3 separate regions of the Homo sapiens genome follow, and all the other regions are linked to region 2. The links are contacts of gene promoters, found by promoter capture Hi-C in blood cells and fetal thymus (Javierre and others, 2016). All regions are on one chromosome and are shown on one strand. Each heading gives the region's core, a stretch centred on a gene start or on the middle of the fragment in contact. The rest is flanking DNA. Distances are from core to core; before and after follow the strand shown. Region 1 overlaps LOC101927764 (a long non-coding RNA gene). Region 2 holds the start of INHBB (inhibin subunit beta B). Region 3 has its middle 31 kb from the start of TMEM177.

What was found. Contacts are between HindIII fragments. The CHiCAGO score rates a contact against its expected background, and 5 or more counts as called.
Region 1: a contact is called between a fragment that was not itself captured here and the fragment with the promoter of INHBB in region 2, in 1 of 17 cell types (neutrophils). The highest score is 8.7, in neutrophils.
Region 3: a contact is called between a fragment that was not itself captured here and the fragment with the promoter of INHBB in region 2, in 1 of 17 cell types (neutrophils). The highest score is 6.0, in neutrophils.

What each region holds. Positions count from the first base shown.
Region 1 is chr2:119,730,618-119,734,997 of GRCh38, reverse strand. The region is part of intron 1 of LOC101927764 (a long non-coding RNA gene); the gene reads left to right. Among named protein-coding and RNA genes, the nearest start is that of PTPN4, 27 kb to the left of the region's middle. The HindIII fragment of the contact is 5,353 bases long and covers 1-4,380 here.
Region 2 is chr2:120,343,111-120,347,930 of GRCh38, reverse strand. INHBB (inhibin subunit beta B) reads right to left here and starts at 1,795. Exons shown (of 2, transcript NM_002193.4): 1 at 1,295-1,795. The coding sequence starts at 1,742. LOC105373989 (putative cuticle collagen 91) reads right to left here. Exons shown (of 3, transcript XM_047446882.1): 2 at 3,904-4,009; 3 at 1,938-3,044. The coding sequence ends at 2,017. RefSeq lists a cis regulatory region at 4,153-4,643. The HindIII fragment of the contact is 14,502 bases long and covers 1-2,395 here.
Region 3 is chr2:119,707,468-119,712,184 of GRCh38, reverse strand. It overlaps a transcript of TMEM177 not described here. Among named protein-coding and RNA genes, the nearest start is that of TMEM177, 31 kb to the right of the region's middle. The HindIII fragment of the contact is 5,929 bases long and covers 1-4,537 here.

The DNA of each region.
Region 1 (4,380 bases), core at 785-3,284, 610 kb after region 2:
TCCTCCTGAGACACACCTAGGCACTCTGAAAAATATTTCAGTGAAACTTCTATGGGGAAGTGCTGGAGGCCTGTGTCAGCAGGTGGGAGGCCCCAGTGACATCTGTTAATGTGGATTCATTTGTCCCTCTGGTGCTGGGCCTGAGCAAATTTGGGATGCACATACATCCTTTCATTGGATTCTTGTTATATCCCTTTGAGGTCAGCATAGCAAGTACTGTAGACTCATTTTTTTTTTTTTCTGCAGAGGAAGAAACTGAGGCTAAAGAACAAAAACTTGCTGAAGGTCACTCAGCTTGGGCTGTGGGACTTGTTTTCCTGCCCCGAGCCCAGCGTCCTTCCCACCATCCAACACTGTTTCCTTTCTTGGTACCTCCATTATTAGAACACCTGGATATTCTTAGCTAACAATGGATGACATAAATAAACACACGGTCATTTCCCCACATTTCCGCACAGGTCCTCTGCAGATGGCAGAGCCCTTTCTCTAAATGCATGGCATGAAAAGGCATTTCAAAGGTTGGAAAGAGAGCTTCAGCATTAATCATGATGGGATAGCGGAAACTGGCTTTGCAAGGGATGGACTGGACTTCAGGGAAGATGGACAGCCTGAGCTCACTTTCAGGAGAGCTCACTTTCAGGAGATCAGTCAGGGCTGTCATTCCAGGGCCTGGGTGGAGGGCTTCTGCTGTGCCAGGGAACAGGTGTCTGGACTCGGTCTCCCAGGGTGAGCGCCGTCTGCTGCCAGTCCTTGCAGAGACTGGACTGTAGCTCTGAGTGCATGATTTGTAGGCCAGGATCCTCCCCTGCCCCTGAGGCTGAGGCCAACATGGGGGGTGGCTGCCTTTAAGGCTGGTCTGGGATTGTCCATGTACTTACTGAGCCAAGGAGGAAGAACCAAAATAGATGCTGGGAGAAAGCAGAGGTCAGAGGCTCAGAGAGGCAAGTCCTGTGTCGGGCTGGAAGGGGATAGTAGAATTGGGGGTGTAGCGGGGGATGGTGTCAATAGCCAGTGGGAATGAGGACTAAGGGAAGAGCCCATCTCACAGGACTCCTGGGCCTAGCAAAGGGTAGGTGATCAATGACTATTTAAGTAATTAATAGTTCAGCAACAAAGGACAGTCTTGTGGGGGTAGGGGCAGCTCCTAAAAAGGGCTGTGGTAGGAAGGGTGGGGCAGGAAGGTCTATGTGGCTGAGCCCCTCTGGGACCCTCAAACTCCAGTGTCAAGTCTTCTGTCCTTTTGAGCCCAAGTGACACCACTGATTTTTTTTTTACTCTATCTTGAGGGAGAAGCAGGCCCCCCACAAAGGACATAAATCTCTACAGATGAGGATACCTCACTGGGCTTTTGTTTGTCAGCCAAAAAGGGAAAAGTAAGCATTTGTCTAATTTTCTCAAATTTTAACCAGCCAACAGGTTAGAGATCTTTTTTTTTCTTTTTGGCTTTTAAAATAACCTTTATTTTTTAAAAGTTAAGATGTGCATTATAGGAAACTGAAAAACGCAAGAAGCAAAGAACAAAGTCATTCACAATCACAGGCAGTTTATAGTTTGACATGCTCTTCTAGGTCCTGTGCGTGTGTAGGCACAACATCCAATTTTATGGCACTGAGATTGTACAGTATGTATCATGATTTTTCACACATCATGAATATTTACCAATTCAAAATCCTAAAGCTATATGAGTATTCTGATAACCAAGAATACACTACACCAACTCAAACTGTTAAAAGAAAATGTAATCCTGCCTTTCTTGGGACAAAAATTTCATGAGATCATGTTTTAAATGGAGAAAGAAAAAGGAGAAAGCCAGAAACTTGAATTCGCTCAATTACTCAGGAAACTTTAACCAAAAAGCTCAGACAAATTAAGGCTGACCTTAATTGATCTGTTTAGATGTTAACCTTTAGAAAAAATCTGTATACATACAAAGAGTATATACATTTGTGGCTTTGAACAAACATTTATGATTCACGGAAGGTGATGACTGCTTTGGCAAAATGGCATGGTTCAGTTTGAAGTCCAGCAGCTCTATTCATCCGTTGTGTGACCTTGGCACTTGGTCCCAGGGTCCCTTCCACCCTTTCTGGGTGAGTGCACAGAGGCGGACCAAAGTGCCAGTTCCAGACCCCATTTCTTGGCTGCTTGGCTCTTGAGGCACCCGACTTTCTGACTTGTCGGGGGCATCCAGGTTTGACGGCTTGGTTGGCCCTCAAGGATGCCTCTTGGCTGACTGGGTTCTGTTTTCTTTAGTTCTCAACTTTCCTTGGTTTCTTAATTTCAATGTTATGTCATCCCTTGGGATCCTGTTGGCCAGGCCCATCCCTGTAGGAGGGTTGACCTCAGCTTTCTTATTTTTCTCCCTTTCTTCCTTTCCTCCTTCACATGTAAGATGAGATGGTTGGACTGGACCAACTCTAGAATCCCTTCCCGCTCTGACTGCTCCATGGTCTGATGAAGGTGGCCACTGAGACATTTGGGCAGGGGCCCCTCTCGAAAACCATGGAGGTAGGCATGTGGTAACTCCCCCTGCTACGTCCATACAGCTATTCTCCTGTGAGAAGAGTTGAGATGGCTTTCTGCACAAAGTGAGAAAGCAAAAGAGCCAGACAGGACCCATGGGGGGAAAAAGGCAGGACAGAAAGCAGATAGCAAAACCAACCTGCCCTCCGAGGGCATGCCCGTCACACGCAGGGCTGCTTGCAAAGTGGGTTTTCGTCCTGTTCTCAGGCTTACAAGCAACTCATTGTCCTCAGAAAATAGCAGCTGCTTCTGGGGAGTATTCGGCATTGGGTGTGACTACTTAGGGGAGCGAGCTTTCAGCAGAAGGCCTGAGCCTTCGTCCGACAGGAAAGGAGGAAGTCATTCTGGGCAGGGGATTCGTTTTCTATTGCTGCTGTAACAAATTACCGCAAATGTAGCGGTTTCAAACAACATAATTTATCATTATACAGTTCTGCAGGTCAGACATGAGCCTCACTTGGACACAAGAATGCATTCTTTTCTGGAGATTCTAGGGGAGAATGCATTTTCTTGTCAGTTGGCAGAATTCAGTTCGACAAGGTTGTGGGACTGAAGTCCCCATTTCCTTGTTGGCTGTCACTGGGGGGGATCCCTTAGCTCCCCCCTGGAGGCCTCTCTCTTATCCTTGTCTATGAACCCTGATATCCCAGAACCAGCAGCAGGGCTCCTCCTCATGCTGCCACCTCTCTACCTTTCCTCAGTTTTCACCTCTCTCTCTCTCTCAGACCATGAGTGGGGAAGGTTCTCTACTTTTTTTTGTTTGTTTTGGAACGGAGTCTTGCTCTGTCGCCCAGGCTGGAGTGCAGTCACGTCATCTGGGCTCACTGCAACCTCCGCCTCCTGGGTTCAAGCAGTTCTCCTGCCTCAGCCTCCCTAGTAGCTGGGACTACAGGCACCCGCCACCACGCCCAGCTAATTTGTGTATTTTAGTAGAGATGGGGTTTCACCATGTTGGCCAGGCTGGTCTACATGACCAGCAAGCAAGCCACCCGCCTTGGCCTCCCAAAGTGCTGGGATTACAGGCATGAGCCACGCGCCTGGCTGGTTCTCTACTTTTAAGGACTCGTGTGATTAGATTGGACCCACCTGAACAACCCCGAGTAGTCCCCCCATCTCAAAGTCTTTAACTGAGTCACATCTGGAAAGGCCCTTTTGTTTGCCATGTAAGGTCACCTATTCACTAGTTCTGGGCATTAGAAAGTGGACATCTTTAGGAGGCCGCTAGCTTGCCACCCACAGGCAGATTAGGCCATGTGATTTGCTGACCCTCTGCAGATGTTACACTGAGGCAGTAAACCTTTTCCAGGTGACTCATACCACCTGTGCACATCAGGAGACAGTCATGTGAACTACAGCTGTTGCCAGTGCCAGCTGGGCATTGTGCAAAGCAGGACTTGAATGTGTCCATCACATGCACTCTGTGGTCGAGCCATCAGATGCCCTGAGTAATTAATGTTCACATGGCTTTGTGAAATACAACTATGTAGGCTAGCTCGTCAAGTGTTTTTACAAGAGCTGACGCCAGTGGAACCCACTCAGCTTGCTTTTCCTGTTCCAGCTTTTTCACGCACAGTCAGGACCCCCCTGGAACTTCATCTACTGCCAGCTCCCCCATTCCCCTCCCACGAGTGTGGGTGGCCCTCTTAGCCTCTGACCGCATACTGGAACCTGCGGAGGCAGTGTTACCAGACCTGAGGTCTTCCTCTGCATTTCATTTGCTGTTCCCTGGCCTGCAATGCCCCTTCCTTCCCACCTCCCCCGAGGGCCTAGCAGCCCCTCCTACACAGCCCTCTAGCCCCTCTGTGCTCAAAGTGCATCTGAGGACATCACCTGAGAGCTGTAGGAGATGCAGGATCT
Region 2 (4,820 bases), core at 546-3,045:
AATCACATTTCTAACTCTGGGCCCCAAAGCACCTTTTAATCCGAGCCCTCTAATTGCATGGCGAGCTTTCCCTGACTCACTTTAGTGGACAGCTAAAACGGCAATGCATTTCTTTCTAAGCACAAACCAGCCCCGATTGTCTCTGCTTTTCTCCACACCCGGCCATGCAAAACTTTTCATCCCTTTTCATCCCCGGGCTGCCTGCTGCCTGGTGGGGTGGGGGGCATTTGCAGCCAGGGGCACAACCGCTCCCCCCACCGAGGCTCCCCGCTTGCCCCCGCCCTAACTGCACCGGGGCTTCCCCCTCTGCGACCTTCTCCGCAGTCCCCTCGGCACAAATGGGGCCGAGCTCCAGGCACAAAAGCCAGCCTGGCTCATTCAAGTCCTGAAAAGGACAGCGGAGTCGAAAGCACTTGCAGCATTTTGGCGCGGGCACATTTTTCTCCTTCTTTTAAAGTTCCGAAAGATTTTTCTCTCCCTGATTTTTATATTTAGACAGTGTTAGAGATTTGCAATCTGGGGCCGGGGGGGGGGGCGGATTCCAGAAAGGAGCCATACCCTTTGTTAACTACGACTCTGCCTCTCGGGCGAGGGGTCTGCTGCAGCTGCCAGGCAAGCCGAGAGGCACGGGGCTGTCCCCGAACCGCGGCTTTCTCTGTGTAAATGATGGACCTGTTGAGAAGCCTGCCTTCCGCCCGATTCCGGTGCCCACACAATCGGAAGAGAGGTTGCCTAGCTCTCCCCAGCGAGGCTTCAGCAATCCTGGCAAGCCCACGCCGCCGGTGATGGAAGCGGCCCCAGGGGCCTCTCACGCAGGCACACACACACACAGACACACACACAGATACACACACACTCTCTCTCTCCTCCGGCCCACGTATATCAACAAGCACACACATCTCCATCCACACTGCTAAGCCTACACTCCGATCGTGGGAAACAAAAACATTAAGCAATCACCAAGCAAGTGCCCGCAGAGCCAGGGCCGCGCGCATCTGCCGGGAGGGGGACGCGCGCCCAGAGGCGCTGGGGCCCGATTCCGGAGAGCAGGGGTGGAGGGCCAGGCGATCGGCGGCGGGGGGTTGAGGCAGCAGGCAAGGGTCTGCGGCCTGGGGGAAGAGGACTGCAACCCGGGCGGAGCGCGCAGGGCCACGGCCGAAGGAGCTCTGCCGGGAGTCCAGGCTGCCCCAGGGCGCGCGGGCTGCGGTGGCGGCGGTGGCAGCCGGAGCTAGCAAGGAGAGGGAGAGCGGGAGCGAGCGGGGACCGCGGCAGACAGCCGGAGGGCCGGACCCACCTGTCTCGGCGAAGCTGATGATTTCGGAAACGCGCTCCTGGCCGTCGGCGCCCGGGCTGGCGTGGCCGTCGAGGTGCGGGATCTCCACGCGGCCGTCCTCGCGCACCTTGCCCGCGTGCAGCTTGCGCAGGGCCGTGACCATGGCGGCCTTAGGCACGGCGTGCGTGATGTTGGGCCGGCCCCGCATCTGCAGGCGGCTCAAGATGTGCCGCTTCACCGCCTCCAGGAAGTCGCCGTCCACTCGGCCGAGCTCCTCTGGCCGCCGGAAGCCGCCGCACGACGTACAGGTGTCCTGCGAGCCACCCGGGGATCCGGGTGGCGGGGGTGGCGGCGGCGCGGCAGGCGTCGGCGGGGGCGTGGGTGAGCCCCAGGCCTCAGGCCCCAGCCAGCCGGCCGCCAGCAGCAGAAGGCAGGCGGCCCCCAGCGCCCGACCGGGCAGCCCGTCCATGGTGCGCCGCTGGCGACGAGGGCGCCCGCCGCGAGGCGAGCCGAGTCGAGCCGAGCGCAGGGCCGGGCTCCGGGCTCCGGGCGCGCCGCCCCGCCCCGCCCCCGCCCGCGCCCGCGCCCGCCCGGGCCTCCGCCCGCCCGCCCGCCGGGAGGGCTGCCGCCGGCTCGCAGGGGGAGGGGGCCGGCCGGGCCTCGGGGGTTCCCGCGCGGCAGGGAAGGGGCGCCGAGGGCCCCGGGGGCCCGAGGGGCGCGCCGGGCGGGGCGGAGGTCGCGGGTCACTGCCGCACGGGCGTCTCGGGGCGCCTCGGCATCTGCAGCCTTCTCCCCATCCTTTCCGCGTCGGGGGCCCCGCAGCCCCGGTTCGGGTGAAGCGAAAGCAGCGTCAGTGGGAGCGGCGGTTCGGCCGGCGGCTGGGGAAGGTGGCGAAAGAGCGGGTCCACGCAACTTGGCTGAGACGGAAGCGAAGGCGCTGGAGCCCCCCGGAGCGGAGCCGGGCGCGGCTTGGCGCGGCGCTGCGGCGGGCGCTGCGGCGGGGCCCCGCGCTCGCACCTGAGCGCCTCGCCCTCACTGCCTCGCGCCAGGAAGGGCCGCCGGCGGCGGAGACGGGCAGGTCGTCCTCGCCGCGGGCCGGCGGGCAGTGGCGCGGAGCAAGCTTGGTGCCCGGGAGAGCCGGCCGCGCGGGCCCGCTCACAGGCGGCGCCGAGCCCTCGGCCGCGGGCCCTGCAGTCCTCCCGGCGCGTCACACGGCAAAGTTGTCTCCAGGATCCCTGGGCGCCGCATCCACGGGCGGGCGGCCGCAGCGCGCTTCGCCGGGGCCTCTGCTCCGCCCGCCTCCTCGCAGCCTCCCTCCTTCCCTCCGCCTGCCTGCGCGGCCCGGCCGGGCGCGGGGCGCCGGGCGAGGAAGGCGAGGGGGAGGCAGGGCCCTTCTCGCTCCTGTCTCTTCTGCCTGCCGCGGCGGCGGCGAGGTCGGCTCGAGCGCCGAAAAGTCTCGCAGCGTCCCCGGGTGCAGTGCCCTCGCTCGCGCTCGTACTGGCACCCGCCGCAGGGCCGGGAGAGAGCGGGCGGGCGGCGGCGGCGTCCCCGCGCCGGGCCGCGGCACGGAGTGCGGAGCTCGCCGAGGAGGAGTTCTTCTCTTTGGTCTCTCTTCTTTTACTCTCCCCGTTTTTTCTCCCAAGGGGGAAAAAAGCCGCACAATCTCCGTATGTGCGCGCGCGTTGAGATAGACGTTGGCAGAAAAAAGGGGGGGAGGGAGGGTGTCGTCCTGCCCGTGCGAGAGGAGACGGTCCGTACCTCCCCGCTCGAGCTTCCCGGGGTGGGGGGAGGAGGAGAAAGCGGAATCTGTTCAGGTTGGGGCTGCCCGCTCCCCGCGCTCACCCCTGCTTCCCACCGCTTTTTTCCTTTCTGCCTTCCCGAGAAGGAGGGGCGAGCCGGCCCTCTCCCCTCCCCTCCTCTCCCCTCCCACCCCCCGCAATGCCGGGCTACTTTTGCTACCTCGAAACTTTCCCACCACGTGGGCGCCCCGGACCCTTGCCCAGCTGGGCGGCCGGCGGCACCGACGGGTTCCAGGCGCTGGACCCAGGCGCTCCTCCCGGCCCACTCCCGCCTCCCCGCCGCCGCGCAGGCCCTGCCTCTGTCCCAGCTGCCGCCCTCCCCAACCAGCAGAGGCGACTCCCGCCGCCGTGGCCGCCCCCGGCCCTCCCGGGGCGCTCCCTCGCGGCCGAGCCTGGCGAGGCGAGCGGGGTGCGGCGCGGCCTGGGATGCCAGAGGCAGGCTCCGCCGGCGGCTGCCGCTCTGGGGCTGCAGTGCCCTCACCCAGCTCCCCGGGCCGCCGTCGCACTGGCCGAGGCGTGGACCCTGCGAGCTGGAGGGCGGGAAGGCAGTAGCCACTGGAGGCCTGGCCAGCGGCTGCGTCTGCTGGGCCAGGAGGAACGCCCCGATTGTGCGGGATCCCAGGCGCGCGGCCCGGAGGCCACTGAGCCTCAGGGCTTGAGGGGCTGGCAGGGTCTACAGTACCCCACCCCCACCCCCACCCCCAGGGAATTCCCACTTTCGCCAGCAGACAAACTTTGGCTTCACTCAGACCCGGGTTCCACTCGGGCTCAGCCACTGCCAGCTTTGCAGGAGTGACCTTGGATAGAGTCCTCACCTTTCCTATCGCCTACCTCTTCTTCTGTGAAGGGACAGTAACACCTGTATCACAGGGGCTGGGTGGGAGGCCCAGCGAGGCAACTGGGCCAGGCTCTTCACACAACCCGATAAAGGATGGTTCTAGGGTCACCGTTCTCAGGCCACCGGACAAGGAACACTGTCAGTGGAAACTTGACTTTCAGACCCGTCCGGGGCCCCAAGTGCAATGCGCTCCTCTGTCCTTCTTCACGCCCCCACCCGGGTCTGGGGCCGCATGACAATGCCCACAGGACACGGAGCCGTACCCCGTTCCCTCGCAACGGGCTAGACTCAAGGCAGAAGCACGATGGGAGTTCATCCTGGCTTTCCCAGGATATTGGGGAATCGGGGACGTCGGAGGCGGAGCGTGGCCTCCTGCCCCCGCCTCCCACCGCCAGTCTCTCGGGCCAGCCCTGCCACCGTGGAGCTCGGCCGGGACCGCAGGCCCGCGGCGGCCTGCAAGTCTGGAAGCCGAGCGCCCCCTCCCTCCCAATCGGAGGAACCGACCCGAAGCTGGCGGGCAAAACTAGGGCGGGTGTGAGTTTGCCGACCGAAGTCAGAAGCAGGGATCCAGGAGGATCCCCGAGATGGCAGCCCTTCTGCCTCCTTAGAATCTCCACCAGGGCCAGAGTCTCTGCTCTCCCATCAGGTTGCCCTTGCCCTGCCTGGGAGCCTGTGGCCCGGGAGCTTCTGCCTCCTGGGAAGCACCTCCTGCATGGTGGCCTTGAGCCAGGCTGGCCACCTCCTGGTTTTGCTTGCATCTGCCCACCCGGCTGTCTCCGTCACCACAGCCACCAGCTACTTGACAAACTCATTCTCAGGCTCTCAGAGTCAGCCCAGTCTCTCCTCCTTGGCGAAGCCTTCCCTGACCCGGTTGTGCCCTGTATAGTTTTTTACCTGAGTGAGGCTCTCA
Region 3 (4,717 bases), core at 324-2,823, 640 kb after region 2:
ATAAAGAAACGGGCCCAAAGACCAGCCCCAGGCCATACCACATATCTAGGAAGCCGCATCAAGGGGTGCCTTAACGCCAACGCCTCAGACAAATCCAGGTCTCTTTGCTGCCCTGGAGCGTGGCTGCTCCACCTTTTTCTTGTTCTCAACCCCCAGGCTCTGGACCTGTCTCTGTCCTCAGGACCATGCACGTGGAAATTCTGCTGCCGGAGCTGCCAGCCCATAACTTTTGGGATAAACTCTCCCATCAGGTGTCCAGTGACAGCTGCCAGTGGGTGCCAGGCTAACAGGGTATTTGTGTTCCAGGTCATCTGGCGTAACTTGCTCCTTTCCCACCCCAGGACTGTCATCTCAGGGAGCCTGTTCTGGTGACTTCTGGAAAGGCCTGGACTCCTTTGTTCCATGGAGTCATCAGGTAACTACGAAGAGTCCTCAGTTTGCTTTTCCCCAGCGCCTTGTCGAGCTTCCTTGGGTGTCCCAGGTCTTGCTGTGTTCAGTGCGGCTTGGGTCATACTTGGTCTTCTTGGGCAATGACAAAGGTGGCTTTTAGTTAGGGAAGGAAGACAGCCTCAGAAGGGAGAAGCCTATCAGTATTTCAAGCCCCAGGCGATGTGAAAAACTGAGCCTTTGTTTGGGAGTGTCAGCCCCCAGGACTTGCGTGTTTCTGCCCTGAAGCGTTTTCTGCTTTCTGAAGGCTGCAGTTCTCTTCCTCGTTTTATTGACTGCCTACGTGCCAGGGGCTTTGTGAATATTACCGCACTGAAATTCCCAATACCCAGCAAGAAGGCATTATTATCCTTATTTTACAGATGAGAAAATAGAGATTAAACAACTTACTTAACTGTTTGAACTCCGTGGGGCACAAACATGAAATGATTCTATTTTTTCTCCAGATCTTTTTAGAGATTTATACCAAATCTCCTTTTCATAATTCCATAGCTTTTTGGTTGTTTTTAGGTATTAAAAAACCCCTATGGTCCAGTCCACTTTCTTTTCAAAGCCTCAAATCTTGAATCCGATATCATATCCACTGCCTGCGCTTCCCTCAGACCAGCCTGCCTCGAGCCAGGCACCTATCGTGAGGGTGGGGTGGTCGGTCTTCATCCCTCTCCTCCCTCTTTTGGTGCCTCTCTCTTCCTGTGCTTGGGGACTTGGGGAAGAGGAGGGAGTGCAATGGGGAAGATAATCTTTTCGCTTCACTGGGCATTTGATCGTAGCCTCTTCTTTGCAGGTTTTGTGGGTTCTCTACTGCTGTTCTCAAGATGGCAGGTGTTGGGCCGGGCGTGGTGGCTCACGCCTGTAACCCCAGCACTTTGGGAGGCGGAAGTGGGCAGATCATGAGGTCAGGAGATCGAGACCATCCTGGCTAATACAGTGAAACACCGTCTCTACTAAAAATACAAAAAAAAATAGCTGGGGGTGGTGGGGGCGCCTGTAGTCCCAGCTACTCAGGAGGCTGAGGCAGGAGAAAGGCGTGAACCCGGGAGGTGGAGCTTGCAGTGAGCCGAGATCGTGCCACTGCACTCCAGCCTGGGTGACACAGCAAGACTCTGTCTCAAAAAGAAAAAAAAAAAAAAGATGGCAGGTGTCCAAGTGCCATCTCCCAAGGGGGATGACTTTGGGTCCCTCCCTCAAGCCTCTCCCTCTGACAGCTGGAGTCCCTCTGTCTGGGGTGGGCTCCTGGGGGCAATGCCGGTAGACAGGCCAGGAAACCTGCTGCCCCACGAAACTCGCGGGTAGGGCTTGGGCATGTGAGCTGCTCCACTGCAGACTCCTCCATCCTGCCCCGTGGATGCTCAAATGTGCTTCTTACGGGCATCCATGATCTGGAATTCTCTTGCAGTGCCTCCCTTGACTGAGGAGGGGAAAGCCAAAATACTGCCCAATACACTGCTCCTATAAACTCCGGGGAATTTCCCCCTGGAATCTCATCTTCTGCTTACACAGTCTGAGGGGATGGCAAGGCTGGGGTGTGGTTGGGTCTAGCAGAGCTGAGTTGGGACATTCTAACCAGTTTATTTTTATTGGGGTGAAATCCACATCAAATAAAATTAATCACCTTAAACTCAAAATTCAGTGGCATTTAGTATCTCCACAATGTTGTGCAACCACCACTTCTATCTAGTTCCAAAACATTTTAATCACCCCCAAAGAAAACTCTGCACCCATTAACCAGTTACTCCCCATTTCCCCTTTCCCCAGTCCCCGGCGGCCACCAATCTGCTCTCCATCTCTATGGGTTTACAAGTGCGTACATTTTGACATCTTTCTTTTGGGTCTTCTTTCCCTAAGATTAGCTGGATGACTCTATCAACCATGACCAAAAACTCCTTTTTATTTATTTATTTGTTTATTTATTTGAGATGGAGTCTTGCTCAGTCGCCCAGACTGGAGCGCAGTGGCGCGATCTCGGTTCACTGCAAGCTCCACCTCCTGGGTTCATGCCATTCTCCTGCCTCAGCCTCCCAAGTAGCTGGGACTACAGGCGCCCACCACTACACCCGGCTAATTTTTTTGTATTTTAGTAGAGACGGGGTTTCACCATGTTAGCCAGCCAGGATGGTCTCAATCTCCTGACCTCGTGATCCGCCCATCTTGGCCTCCCAAAGAGCTAGGATTACAGGTGTAAGCCACTGTGCCCAGCCTAATATTTTTATTTCATTTTATTTTTTGTAGATATAGGATCTCACTATGTTGCCCAGGCTGGTCTTGGACTCCTGGGCTCAAGTGATCCTTCCCTCTTGGCCTCCCAAAGTGTTGGGATTACAGGCATGAGCCACCATGTCTGGCTCACCAAAGGCTTCTGATATCCCTAATGGACCAAATATTTCTTGAAAATTCAAAGGGATTGTAGTATGTGGTGGGATTTTTAGGCAGGAACCACCAATTATTAACTTTCAGTAACCATCTCTAAATGGCCACGACTGCACTGACCTCAGAGCCACAATCTGTCAGGCCACAGGCACTTAGTGAGGACCCTTGTCTGCATGTCATAACACAGTGGTGGGTGCCACAGAAAAATGGAAAGAGACGCGCATGGTACAGTGGAAAATCCACCCAAAGTGGATGCCTGTTCTGATGCCAACTTGCTGTGCATTCTTAGACAAATTACTTAGCTTCCCTGGGCCTCAGTTTTTTTATCCATAAGATGAGTGATGACATATTATTTATGCAAATTGTAAAACAATAAAAAAGAAAAATCAAGTCTCAGAATAGGTAACCTTTAAGTTTTCTTTGATGTTAAGGTCATTATGAGACTTAGTTCTTGCCTCTGTGGGGCATTACCTAGTATGAGGAAAACAAAACAAAGAAATGTAGAAAACAATAAGAGTCAATACCAAGCTGTGGCTCAGTGACTTGGAGTCTCTAGGGGTCCAGAGAAGGGAGGAGAGGGTGTGTGCCCTGTGAGAGAAGGGCTGTGGACCAAAACTGACAGGATAGTTTTTACAAAGAGTGATGTGAGAAGTGGGCATGAGCAGGGTGTGCCAGTGCGACTGTGTGTGTGTGTATGTGTGTGTGTGTGTGTGTGTGTGTGTGTGTCTGCGTGTGATTGTCTAGTGGGGAGGACTGCTTAAGATTAAAAGACGCTCAGGAGACATATCTACCAAATGCAATGTGTGAACCTTGTTTAAATCTTGATTTGAACAAAGCAACTGTAAAATAGACATCTTTGGAACAATCGGGGGAATTTGAATATGGATTGCATATTTGATGGCCATAAGGAAGTTTTGCTCATGTTGTTAGGTGTGTTAATTTGTGAACACGGGTGTGAACAACTAAATATGCCTGTTATGTAAGAAAATGTCCTTATTTTTCAGAGATACATGCTGAAATCATTTAGCAACATTATGATGCCTGAGATTTTTTTTTCCACAAAAATAAAAATAGATGAAACAAATGTGGCAGAATGGTAATCATTGTTAAAGCTAAGAGATGGGTGTTTGGGTATTTCTTGTATGGTTTGTATGAGTCAGGATCTAACCAGGAGACAAAGACCACTGGAGTCTTGAAAACAGAAGGACTTTGAGGCAGAGTATTGGTTATTGGTTACACAGTGGGTGGGAGACTGAGCAGCCAAACACACAACCCTGAGATTAGTGTCAGATGTGACAACCCTGGGCTGGGGGGCAAGGCCAGGAAAGTGCTGTCGCTGGAGAGCAGGGGCTGTAGCACAGGGGCAAAACAGAAACCACAGCAGGCCTTTTGGGAGAGGCGCCGGAGCCATGGCAGAACCGCAGCTGCAGCAGGGACACTACCCGAGGTAGACAGAGAGGGAAAACCTTGGCTTGTCCCATCCTCCCACCTCCCCATCTCCTGCTAGTGCTCCCCGTTGGCCAAGCCCCATCTCCAACCAAAATGGAGTCATCAGGGGCAGCTCCATGCAACACGGAGTGGAGGAGGGGAGGGGCGAGTGGCATGGATGTGAAGCCAGACAGGTCCAGGGCCTAAGCTCTGTTCTCTCTGTGCATTTTTGTTTGTTTGTCTCATCTCTACCCTGAAGCATAGTTTGCACATTAGCATCTCATCCCTTCAAGCTTGCCATGGAGGCCTCTTGCCACCTTCCAGAGAGCTCTGGACAGCAGGGCCCTTGGGGCAGAAGAGCCATTATTTCCATTTTACAGCAGCTGCTGGAAGCTCAGATAACACCTTTCTGGCAAAGAAACCAAGAACGTTTCTGTGTCAGCTTCGCCTGCTGACAAGGACCCAGAAAGAATCC